4 separate regions of the Homo sapiens genome follow, and regions 2, 3 and 4 are each linked to region 1. Evidence: promoter capture Hi-C in 16 types of primary human blood cells and fetal thymus (Javierre and others, 2016). All regions are on one chromosome and are shown on one strand. The core of a region is centred on a gene start or on the middle of the fragment in contact, and the rest is flanking DNA. Distances in the headings are between cores, read along the strand shown. Region 1 holds the start of AMER1 (APC membrane recruitment protein 1). Region 2 overlaps ARHGEF9 (Cdc42 guanine nucleotide exchange factor 9). Region 3 overlaps ARHGEF9 (Cdc42 guanine nucleotide exchange factor 9). Region 4 overlaps ARHGEF9 (Cdc42 guanine nucleotide exchange factor 9).

What was found. The method cuts DNA at HindIII sites, captures the fragments that hold promoters and counts their contacts. A CHiCAGO score of 5 or more calls a contact.
Region 2: a fragment that was not itself captured here is called in contact with the fragment with the promoter of AMER1 in region 1 in 2 of 17 cell types (non-activated CD4 T cells and fetal thymus); the score reaches 7.4 in non-activated CD4 T cells.
Region 3: a contact is called between a fragment that was not itself captured here and the fragment with the promoter of AMER1 in region 1, in 2 of 17 cell types (M2 macrophages and monocytes). The highest score is 5.3, in M2 macrophages.
Region 4: a fragment that was not itself captured here is called in contact with the fragment with the promoter of AMER1 in region 1 in 1 of 17 cell types (monocytes); the score reaches 5.4 in monocytes.

The regions. Positions count from the first base shown.
Region 1 is chrX:64,204,402-64,207,101 of GRCh38, reverse strand. It overlaps AMER1 (APC membrane recruitment protein 1), which reads left to right and starts at 1,394. Exons shown (of 2, transcript NM_152424.4): 1 at 1,394-1,532. It overlaps LOC112268307, which reads right to left and starts at 1,156. Exons shown (of 4, transcript XM_047442706.1): 1 at 1,018-1,156; 2 at 62-120. The coding sequence starts at 1,083. RefSeq lists an enhancer at 858-1,017 and silencers at 1,148-1,247, 2,228-2,287. The HindIII fragment of the contact is 4,951 bases long and covers 1-2,700 here.
Region 2 is chrX:63,746,693-63,749,392 of GRCh38, reverse strand. All of the region lies in intron 1 of ARHGEF9 (Cdc42 guanine nucleotide exchange factor 9), which reads left to right. Among named protein-coding and RNA genes, the nearest start is that of ARHGEF9, 37 kb to the left of the region's middle. The HindIII fragment of the contact is 1,287 bases long and covers 630-1,916 here.
Region 3 is chrX:63,766,751-63,769,450 of GRCh38, reverse strand. All of the region lies in intron 1 of ARHGEF9 (Cdc42 guanine nucleotide exchange factor 9), which reads left to right. It also overlaps the pseudogene BTF3P8. Among named protein-coding and RNA genes, the nearest start is that of ARHGEF9, 17 kb to the left of the region's middle. The HindIII fragment of the contact is 4,403 bases long and covers 1-2,700 here.
Region 4 is chrX:63,730,004-63,732,703 of GRCh38, reverse strand. The region is part of intron 1 of ARHGEF9 (Cdc42 guanine nucleotide exchange factor 9); the gene reads left to right. Among named protein-coding and RNA genes, the nearest start is that of ARHGEF9, 54 kb to the left of the region's middle. The HindIII fragment of the contact is 2,384 bases long and covers 108-2,491 here.

The sequences.
Region 1 (2,700 bases), core at 145-2,644:
CCCTAGCAGCCATGTCAGTTCCTGTGCTCTACACATGCAGAGGCAGCAGTCCACCTCTTACCAGTTCAGCAGCTGGATCTTTTCAAGACTGTCAGGACCCAGAAGCAGCAGAGAACACTCCTGCAATGCAAAAATAGCACGCATTGTTCTCTAATCCTTCTCTCTATCCTCAGCTTTAATCCACCCACCTCCCTTTTTAGACACACACAGAGTTTTAGGGCTGGGCCTTCTGGATATTCTTGAACTAGTGGTGGAACTAGATTCTTTGCTGCCTCAGCTCACCTGGCCCTGGCAGCCACTGATGCCACTTAATGTCCTTAGGCTAGAGACCCAAGTTCGCCGGGCTCCCTGCCACATCCCACACACAGTAGCAGACAAGGCTGGTACAGGCCTCCTCACTTTGTCCTCAGCCTGACCTCCGGTTTGGGCCCAGACAAGATTTTCCTCTCAATATTTAGACTTTTCAAGGAAAAAGGCCTGCCGAAAGCCAGGCTCACAAAGGATGGGGGAAGGGGGACTCTGGAGACCTTGGGGATTCCCTCCACATTCCATAGAAGGTGCGAAATTTGGGTGAGGGTCAAACTATGGAAACAGGTATCATCTCAGAGAAGAAAAGTGAAAGCAATCCTGGAAAGGGAGCCCGGGGCTCTGGATTCCAAATTGGCCCTTGTCGCCGGCAGGCTGGGTAACTGTGGGGAGGGACTTTCCCCACTCTGGGCAGCAGAGGGCCCGTCGGTAACGGGTGGAAGTTGGCCTCTATGGTCTCTAAGGGCACTGGTGTGCCAGAGAGGCGGACGAAGTTAGGGCGCAGGCGCTGCAGCTAGCTTTCCTGGCAGGTGAGTCCCTCCTCTGGGTGGCCTGGCGGCGCGATCCGCAGGGCCTTGTCTCTACGACTAAGGATAGGCCGGCCCTTAGGTTTCTGCAGTCTTCCCAGATTCCTCAACCTCTCTGCCTCGTTACTCCCCGCCGGCCTCTAGCTCAGGAATAAACGTCCTGGTGGCGGCCAGGGCACAGTACCGCGAATGCACAGCGGCCACAGAAATGGGAGTGCGTGAAAACCGAAACCGATCCGGCGAGCCCCATCCGGGCAGGACTGGCTCCTTGAGGCCACGGTGTAGCCACGCCACTACCAGCCCGGCGTGGGGGCGGGAGTGGGGAGCCCCAGCCAGTGGTTCCGCACCCTCTCCGCCCCCTGCCAACACCACGCCTGCACTTATTTGCATTTAAAGAGAAACGCACCAAGGAAAACAGTGGGCGGGCCGGGGCACGCCTTCCCACCATAGCGATTGGGCCATATGCCTGCCAATCAGGACGCAGATGCCCCACCCGGTGGCCTTGGAGTACTGGGGGAGGGGGTATGGGGGAGCTACCCAAAGCCTGGGGAAGGGGAGTCAGTGCTGGAGGTGACTGGAGCCGCGGCGACGGCGGCAGCAGCTGCGGTGGCGGCGCTCTCAGCCGTGGCAGCCGAGGCTGCAGCCCGGCCCAGGGCGGCTCAGCGGACAATAACCGGGCTAGGAACCTGACCGGGCTGGGTAAGCGTTGCGTACAGCCAGGAGCCTCCGCCTGCCCGCGGTCGGGTGCATTCCCGCGTGCTCTGCTCCTACGGACTGGAGGAGGGCACTAAGGACTAGGCGGGTCGGAGTCCCGGTCGCTCGCCCCTCTCCTTTGGAACCCGCTTTGCGGACTGTCGGGTGGAGAGGCAGAGCGGCCTTGAGTCCCCTGGGCACAAGCGACCACGGCTGGGGGGAGGGGGGTTGGGGAGGGCGGGTAGGAAGGCAGGCTAGCCTGGGCCAAGCCTCCCGGCTTTCGGGGGGGCGGGGATGGGCCCGCACGTGCTGCCGCACAGTCCCGGGAAGGGCGCCGCCAGCCAGCACCCCAAGCCATGCATTTGTAGGCCAGGAGCTCTGCAGCTTTGTTGTAGCACATTTGCTGGAACAGCTGTGTAACGCGGGTACCGCTCACCCCTCTCTCCGGCTGCCTGGCTGCCGCCCCTCCCCTCCCCTGTGCATCTCCAGCCTCTCCCTCCTTTCTGCGGACTCAAGCTGGCGTGCTGGCTTGGGCCCGACGGAGACCGGCTTTGGCGTGGATTGGGACATCCACAGACTGCCCCCTCCCCAGAGGAGCTCAGTTGGGCCTGTGGGCTGAGCTCAGTCGCACACTTCCCTTCAGAACCTTGGCCTTGTGGCCCCAACTAGCCGCGCCCCTCCTCCTGGGCCTCCGGGCGCATCTGGCGCCCGCCCCCGCGGTCGGGCAGGCTGGCTGGCAGCCGGGCTCTTGCTGGTCCTTGGGTTAGAGCAGCGGCGCAAGCTAGTCCTTGAGTTAGAGCTGCAAGGCCGCTTTGTCTCCCGCCTCGCCTCGCCTCACCTCCTTTTCCCTTGGAGGATACTGGCCGCGTTTTCCTCTCCAGCCTCCCGTTTAAAAATAGCAATAGGCACGGTGTTTGGGGGGCATTTCCTTGCCAGAGGCCGAAGGAGCCCTCATTGTAGTACGGAACGTATCATACCATCTCTGTGTACAGGAGAGCTAGCGAGGTGGCCAAACCCTCCAACTTCGCAGTTACTTAACATACCCAGCCCGCCAGGCCCCTGTCATTGTCTGCTGGAGACACTTCTGACACTGGTGACCGCCCGAACGCTGGACTTTGCTTGGCTCCCCCGGTGGTGAGGGGCTGTGCCCGCTACATGCGTCACAGCCCAAGCG
Region 2 (2,700 bases), core at 24-2,523, 460 kb after region 1:
CGGGCGTGGTGGCACACGCCTGTAGTCCAGCTACTTGGGAGGCTGAGGCAGGAGAGTCACTTGAACCCAGGAGGCGGAGGATGCAGTGAGCCGAGATCATGCCACTGCACTCCAGCCTGGGTGACAGAGCGAGAGTCCGTCCCAAAAAAAAAGAAAGAAAAGGAAACAAAAGAAAGAAAGGAGATTTGGGAGTCATCCCTGAAGTCATACTAGCTTCCTCAGCTACTCACATTTTTAATAACTTTCATTTGTATAGCACTTTTGCTCAGAATTTTCATTCTATAAAATGCCTTTTTGTCTTGAATATGCATCAAAGAGTTCTGTTTAGTTTTATGAAAACTCACTATTTGGGATCTTCAAGGTGAGAGGCCAGTGTGAATTGCTGAAGCCTAAAATACAGAATGTTTTCAAGGAACTGTAGTTTTAATACAATTGTTCTTCTCTTTGAAGCACACTTATTTTTCTATATTTCTTTAAAAATCTGCTGCCTAGAACTGTTCATGCTACTCTAGGTGCCACCTGACTGAGATCAAGTGCAAAAGAACTTTGTTTTGTCTGTGAAATGTCTAATAATGCAGCCTTCTACTGATTCTCAACCCTCACTGAACATTCAGATCACTTGGGAAGCTTTTTTTTAAATACCCATGCCAGGTCCCCTATCTGAAAGATTCTGATTTAATTTTCATGGGCTAGATCCCAGGGAGCTTTATTTATTTATTTTTTTAATTTAAAGTTCCCTAAGGTGATTCAAATGTGCAGCCAGGGTTAAGAGTTAGCCTTTTGAGCATGTAGGTCCAAACCATTTACTGTCTAGTCCAGTCCTCTACTCTCTTGTGAAGTTGGCCACTTCAGGGTTTTTTGAACCAAACTTGCTACATTTTATCTTGACATGTTGGTCCATTATTCTAGCTTTCTGTGGATTTTAAAATTTTTTCTTCATGCTGTGCTACAAATTAGCAGTCCCTTCTAGCACTGCATCAGTTAAATTCTATTTGTTTGGTTGGACTATTGTTCTAGCCTTTGGGAGGTTTTTATTTTTTTTCTTCATGTCACACAACAGGTTAGCAGCCTCTTCTAGTGTTGCATTATTTGAACACCAAATAAATGGCATTCGAGTCGTTGATTCAAAGAAATGTTTACTATGATATGATTAATGCTAGCTCTTCTGTCACCTCACCAGAGCCCCTCTTGGAGTTGGGACTTGTTAATTTTTGTATGTATCTGGTCAACCAGTGCAGACTGCACCTGGTTGTGCCAGCATTTATCCTACCAGGGTGTTAATGTGAATAACATAGCACGATAGATTTGTTGTATGCTTTGTGGGCATCAAGATATGCTAGGTTCATAGCAAGCATCTGCCAAACTGATAGCCCCATCAGAAAAAGCAGTATAAGTTACTTGGCCTCTTACTCATGGTAAATCTGGTTGCAGGCTCCAGAGCTTCTTGTTTTCTTTCTGTGCCTACAATGCAAATGTTTCTAAACTGGGTTCAGAACTTGGCTGAGGGTCAGTACTACAACTGTAGTTTCTGTGTATTACTTTCTCCTCTTTGAAAAAGCAGGACATAATGGATTTAGCTTTAAAACAGAATATATTTTGTGCTCAAAGAGTTCCGGAAATTCTTTGTGTATGTTTCTCTTGTTGTTTTGCTTAATTGTTTCCATTAACCCAGTGGTTCTCAGCACTGGCTGCACATCGGAATCACCTGGAATATTAAGAGTAACAACAATTCCTAGAATCTTTGGGAGAGATCTGATTGAGTTGATCATAGTGGTTTCCTGGCATCAATATTTTTCTAAGAGTTCCCTGAGGTGATGGGAATGTTCAGCCAGGGGTGAGAATGACTGCTATGGAATGCTTCATAGGAAATGTTAGCTCAGCCTGTCTGACTTATCACACATGTGACTAGGCAAGCTTCACAGATGGTGAAATTTTATTCTAGGACTGTGGGAGCCTCGATAAGTCCCAGGGGCTTGTGCTCACTCTAAAAAGGAGGAATCAACCCTAGGGAATGAGTAGTCTGGAGACCTAATTGTATTTAAAATAATCAGCTGTGAGATGGTTTGAACACTTCAGGAATAAAAAAAAAGTCAGTTCCTACACATTTGCTGTAATGATGGGGAAGATTCTGCTCATTTGCTAGTGACCTCAGGCAAATTACTTCTCTCCTCTGAAATTTGGTTTTCTTCATCAGCAAAATAAGGATAGGTGGATTTGATGACTTCAAAGATTTCTTCTAGCTCCAACAATATGTGCTTATTTTGTGATTAATATTAATGATCAACACGAGTACAGATATTATTTAAATCTAGCAGGTAATCCAGAGATCCATTTTAGCAGGTTTAGAATACACAGAGTGGTTTTAAGGATAGCAGTTTTGCCTTCTTAATTATACTTGGCTTAGGTTTCTTTTAGAACAAGTGAACTTAGGTTGTATTCTTTGAGCACACACTGGCCGCCAAGCAGGAAAGGAGACTGTATGAACACGCATTGGCTGCCAAACAGGGAAGGAAGTGGTACAGTGAATTGAGTAGCTAGGGTATGCCAGTTTGGGATTCTGTTTATTAAAGAGATATGTCATGGATAATTGAGAATTGCCTCTCATAGATATAATACCAGTCTCATAGGTCTGAAAAAGATGGATTGCTTTGACAGCTCAGAGCCCCTTCCTGCAGTATTTTAAGTAGCCATTCACTTGGT
Region 3 (2,700 bases), core at 187-2,686, 440 kb after region 1:
ATTTTTTTTTTTCATTGCATTGTTAGGCTGCAAATTTTTCAAACTTTTATGCTTTGCTTTTATTATAAAACTGAATGTCTTTAGTAGCACCCAAGTCACATCTTGAATGCTTTGCTGCTTAGAATTTTTTTTTCACCTGATACCCTAAATTTTTTTTTTTAAGTTTAGTTTCACAAATTTCTAGGGCAGGGGCAAAATGCCGCCAGTTTCTTTGCTAAAACATAACAAGAGTTACCTTTGCTTCAGTTACCAACAAGATCCTTATGTTTATCTGAGACCACCACAGCTGGACTTTATTGTTCATATTGCTATTAGCATTTTGGGCAAAGCCGTGTAACAAGTTTTTAGGAAGTTTTTAACTTTCCCACATTTTCCTGTCTTCTTCTGAGCCCTTCAAACTGTTTCAACCTCTGCCTGTTACCCAGTTCCAAAGTTTCTTTCACATTTTTGGGATTTTTTTTTAGTAGCACCCCACTCCCGGTACCAATTTACTGTATTTGTTTGTTTTCACACTGCTGATACATACATACCTGAAACTGGGCAATTTACAAAAGAAAGAGTTTTAATTGGACTTACAGTTTCACATGGCTGGGGAGGTCTTACAAGTATGGTGGAAGGCAAGGAGGAGCAAGTTACATTTTAAGTGGATGGTGGCAGGCAAAGAAAAAATGTACCAGCAGGGGAAATGCCAAATGTTTATAAAACCATCAGCTGTCATGAGAACTCACTCACTATTACAAGAACCATATGGGGGAGACTGCCCCATGATTTAATTACCTCCACCTGTCCCCTCCCTTAACATGTGGGAATTATTACAATTAAAGGTAAAATTTGCCTGGTGACACAGAGTCAAACAATATTGTATACATTAGTACAACCTCTATGGAAAACAGTATAGAGATTTCTCAAAGAACCAAAAGTAGATCTTCCATTTGATCCAGCTATCTCACTACTGGGTATCTGCCCAGAGGGAAAGAAGTCATTATATCAAAAAGACACCCACACACATATGTTTATCACAGCACAATTCACAATTGCAAAGATATGGAATTAACCTATGTGCCCAACAATTGATGAGTGGATGAAGAAAATATGGTATATAAACACCGTGGAATACTACTCAGCCATAAAAAGGGACTAAGTAATGTTTTTTGAAGTAACTTGGATGGAGCTAGAGGCTCTTATTACAAGTGAAGTAACTCAGGAATGGAAAATCAAATACTGTATGTTCTCACTTATAAGTGGGAACCAAGCTATGGGTACACAAAGGCATACAAAGTGGTATAATTGATATTGGAGACTCAGAAGGGGAAGGGTTGGAGGACAAAAAATAAAAAACTACATATTGGGTACAATGTACAATACTTGGGTGGCTGGTGCACTAAAATCTGACTTCACCACTATACAATTCATCCATGTAACCAAAAACCACTTGTTCTCCAAAAGCTACTGAAATAAAGAAAAAGTGCCTTGACATGCATGAATTCATGTAATCCTCACAACAACACTCTCCCTACTTTAAAGGTGGGGAAACTAAGGCTGGAAGAGGGGGAATATCTTCTCCATGCAACTATCTCCAAACAGAGCCAGAATGAAAACCAGGTGTGTAACACCATAGTAGTTATTTGGTCATTACTCTTCTCACTTGCCAGGAGTGAACGCTGCCCAGCCTCCTTCATTCTAGAGGTGAGGGGTACCAGGAATAAGGTTATAAATACAGTATGTCTTAAGAAAGATAGCTTACCTTTCCCAAGCCAGCGTTTATTTTGTGCCAGGCACTGTTCTAAATGTTTTTGCATGTGTATCTAATACAATCTTCTCAACAATCTTATGAGGTCGGCACAATTCTTCTTTTTTTAACTAAAGAACTTTATTAACCTTTGTCTCAAACTTTATTCCCAGGCTTCTTCATCTTAATTAGCTGCAAAGGGTGAATTGTTTATAAGCAAAAACTGAAAACAGCTGCAGTGTCCAAGGGGCTTGGGCTTAAAAATATTACAGAACTAGATTTTATCAGATCCATAAACAAAAATTTTTTAAAAGCAGTCATAATATAAAATAGCAGCTCCCAGTAACTTCTTCAAGTTTTATCTTCTTCAGAAGTTGACTCAATTCAGTTTGCCTCATTCTTGGAAGCCTCATCAAAATTTTCTACAAGATCTGGAACTTCATCATCGTCATCCTCTCCAGTAGCAAGTGGTGCTTTCCATCCACGTATTGTTTAGGCAGAGCTTCAGCCAGTCTCCTTAAACTAGCCAAACTGCACCAAGCTGGTTTAAGATGCTGCATGGCATTTCTGTCAGCTGCTTTGTCACAGCATGGCCTGTAATGGTGAAAGTGTTCACTGCTAGAGATGCCTAAACTTTAGGGTTGTTAAAGTGGATCACTGTTCCTTGGTTTGTAAACATATTCACCTCTTCAATACCAGAGACAGTGTTTACCTCTAACTTCTTTAAGGAGAACTGAAGTTTTTAATCATCTGCTGTGGCTGTTTTATGAACCACCTCCTTCTTTCTGTGAGCAGTTCCTTTCCTGCAGTTTGGTGGGTTTTCCTGGCCCATGATTGTTTCTTTCATCTTGTCGGAGTGGATGAGGGGCCGCGTGGGGGACTAGGGTTGGTGATCAGGGGTCTTGGATGGCTCAGCTGAGGTTAGGCACGCACATGCAGAGACACAAGATGGGAGATAGAGGGGCACAGTT
Region 4 (2,700 bases), core at 50-2,549, 470 kb after region 1:
TTTGACAAGAGTGGTGGAAAGCCCCTGCCTTGTTAGAGGTAAAGGTTGGATCCAGAGATGAGGCTAGATTAAGGAGAGCTTTGAGATAGTGGGGAGTTACTGAAGCTTCTTGAGCTTGAGGAGTGATACTAGCAAAAATGCTTTAAGATTCGCATCATTAAGGCATAGCTTGAGGAAGGGACAGACCTGTAAGGGCCAAGGAAGCCGGTTGGGAGACAGTTTGAGCTGATGAGGACCAGGATAAGACAGTGGGAATGAAGAGAATGCGTTGTATCTGAGAGGGAGAGACATGAAGAAGAAAGAAATAGCAGGGCCAGAAGATTTTCCTTAAATGGGAAAAATTGAGAAGGAGGGAGAATGGGGGAATATGATGAATTTTGCATTTTATTGGAGGTGGTAGCAGGCCATCCAGTGAAATGTGGAGCAGGCAGTAGGAAATATGGGACTGGAGGTGAGCGAGAACTGATGTCATGAGAAGGATGATTCATCTGAAGAACTAAGTGGAGAGAACAAAAAGCAAAGGTCCCTATTGACTTTTGAATGCGGCAGTCAAGGGTTTAAGTGGGAAGCCCACTTCTCAATTTTCCCAGGTAGTCTGACTGTGTTGCCAGCAATGCTTGAGTGAGTTATCTTCAGGAAAAAGTTCTCATTTTTTTGAGCAGAAAGCAGTAAAAGCATCCTATCAAGCACAAAGAAGGGTGAGGAGAATTAAGCTGCAATAATGACATCCCCGTCCTTTGCAGAGTAAGTGTTAGCCTCAGTAGAATACCAGAGCTGGAAGGGACTTGAGAGGTCATCTGTATGGTTCCAGTCTGTCACTTGACATGTAAAAAAACTGAGACGGGCTGGGTGCGGTGGCTCACGCCTGTAGTCCCAGCACTTTGGGAGGCCAAGGCAGGCGGATCACCTGAGGTCAGGAGTTCAAGACCAGCCTGGCCAACATGGTGAAACCCTGTCTCTACGAAAAATACAAAAAATTAGCCAGGTGTGGTGGAAGATGCCTGTAATCCCAGCTGCTTTAGAGGCTGAGGCAGGAGAATCACTTGAACCCGGGAGGTGGAGGTTGCAGTGAACCGAGATTGCACCACTGCGCTCCAGCCTGGGCAACAGAGCAAGACTCTATCTAAAAAAAAAAAAAAAAAAAAAAAAAACTGAGACAGGGAAAGGGACCTGTCCAAGATCATTTGGTGAGTTACTGGCAGATTTTCTTCCAATAGCCAATCTGAGTCTTTACTGTACACCATGGTACCTCATAGCTATTGTTGGGGCAGCCTGGTTCACACCTTCCCAAAAATAGGGAGGATGATTATCCTTCAACACTTTGGGCAAGATAGCCAGAGCGTTTTCAAGGCTGTATTAAAAGGAATCTAGCTTTTTCAGGAGAGAGCATAAAATCTCAGCTTGTTTTAGATATGCTTAAGGGAGCAAGGGAAAATAATTTGCTCTTGCCCAAGTTTAGCTGTTCAGGAGAAGGGGGCCTTCTGAGAGGATACGGGCAGACACCAACCTGAGAAAACCTCATAGGCAAACCCCTGTCATGTCCCTCCTTTTCCTCCTACGGAGCTTCTTGGAAGGCAGGTCCAGCTCATCTACCTTCATGGCAATTGGCATATTTGCTATTCCATACATGTGAGGTTCACATTTTTTAACCCATTCTCCCTTCTGCTGCTTCTTATTAAAACACTAATATTTCTGACAGCCACCAAGGCTAATTAAATGTCTATTTTGGGGGTGGTGCTGTTGAACTAGAGGGGAAGAACAAGAAGTTGTAGATAAGTGGCATGGCTCTAAAAGACTGGGTGACAGCCATAATCCCAAGTTTTTTCCTGTGTTAACACAGCCTGACATTGGGCATGCTGCTTACATGACCCCAAATACCCTTTTGCAGACATTTACCAACAACTGAGGAAGGCCTTGTAGATAGGAAGGGAGTGCTGGAGGCAGGGAGCACAACATATGGTGTGGCATGGGGAAATCTGTGAAGAATGAGGCATCAGAAGAGGCAAGGGTAGGGCCTACACTAGGACAGTCCATTAGGGCAGTGGTTCTCCAGATGTGATTCCCAGACCAGCAGCATCAGTATCACCTGGGGATCTATTTGAAATGCAGGTTCTCAAGCTGCACTTCAGACCTACCTAATCAATACTCAAGGCCTATGTGGCCCAGCAACCTGTGTTTTAACAAGACCTCTGAGGAACTGAGAATCACTGCTGTAGGTCATTCACAGGGTGAGCTGGTCCCCCTCCCTGCCATTTGACTGGTTCCATGGGGGACTGGCAAATAGCAAAGCTGTAGAGTAAGGCCAACTGGAGATTTAAATCTGCTCCACCACCTACTAACTGGGTAACTGTGGGTTACTTGTTTTATCTCACAAGTCATCTTCAGTAAAAATGGAGATGTTAATGCTTACATTGGAGAATTATAGAGGTTGAAATCACAAAAGAAAGCCCTTTATCCAGTTTGCAGCATATGTTTTCTACAAGTATAAGCTTCTCTTGCTTCGTCCTTCCCTTTATAACTCTTTTACTTTCCTTCTGTCTTTCCCATTTCTTCTTCTGTTCCCACTGAAAGGGTCCACTGGCCACCCCAAGCTCACTGCAAACACACATGCCTTTTTTGGTCACAGAGACCAGCCTTAGATCTCAGACTCCCAGTGCCTCCAGGGTATAGCAATCATATTTCTAGGTTAAAAATCAAGGC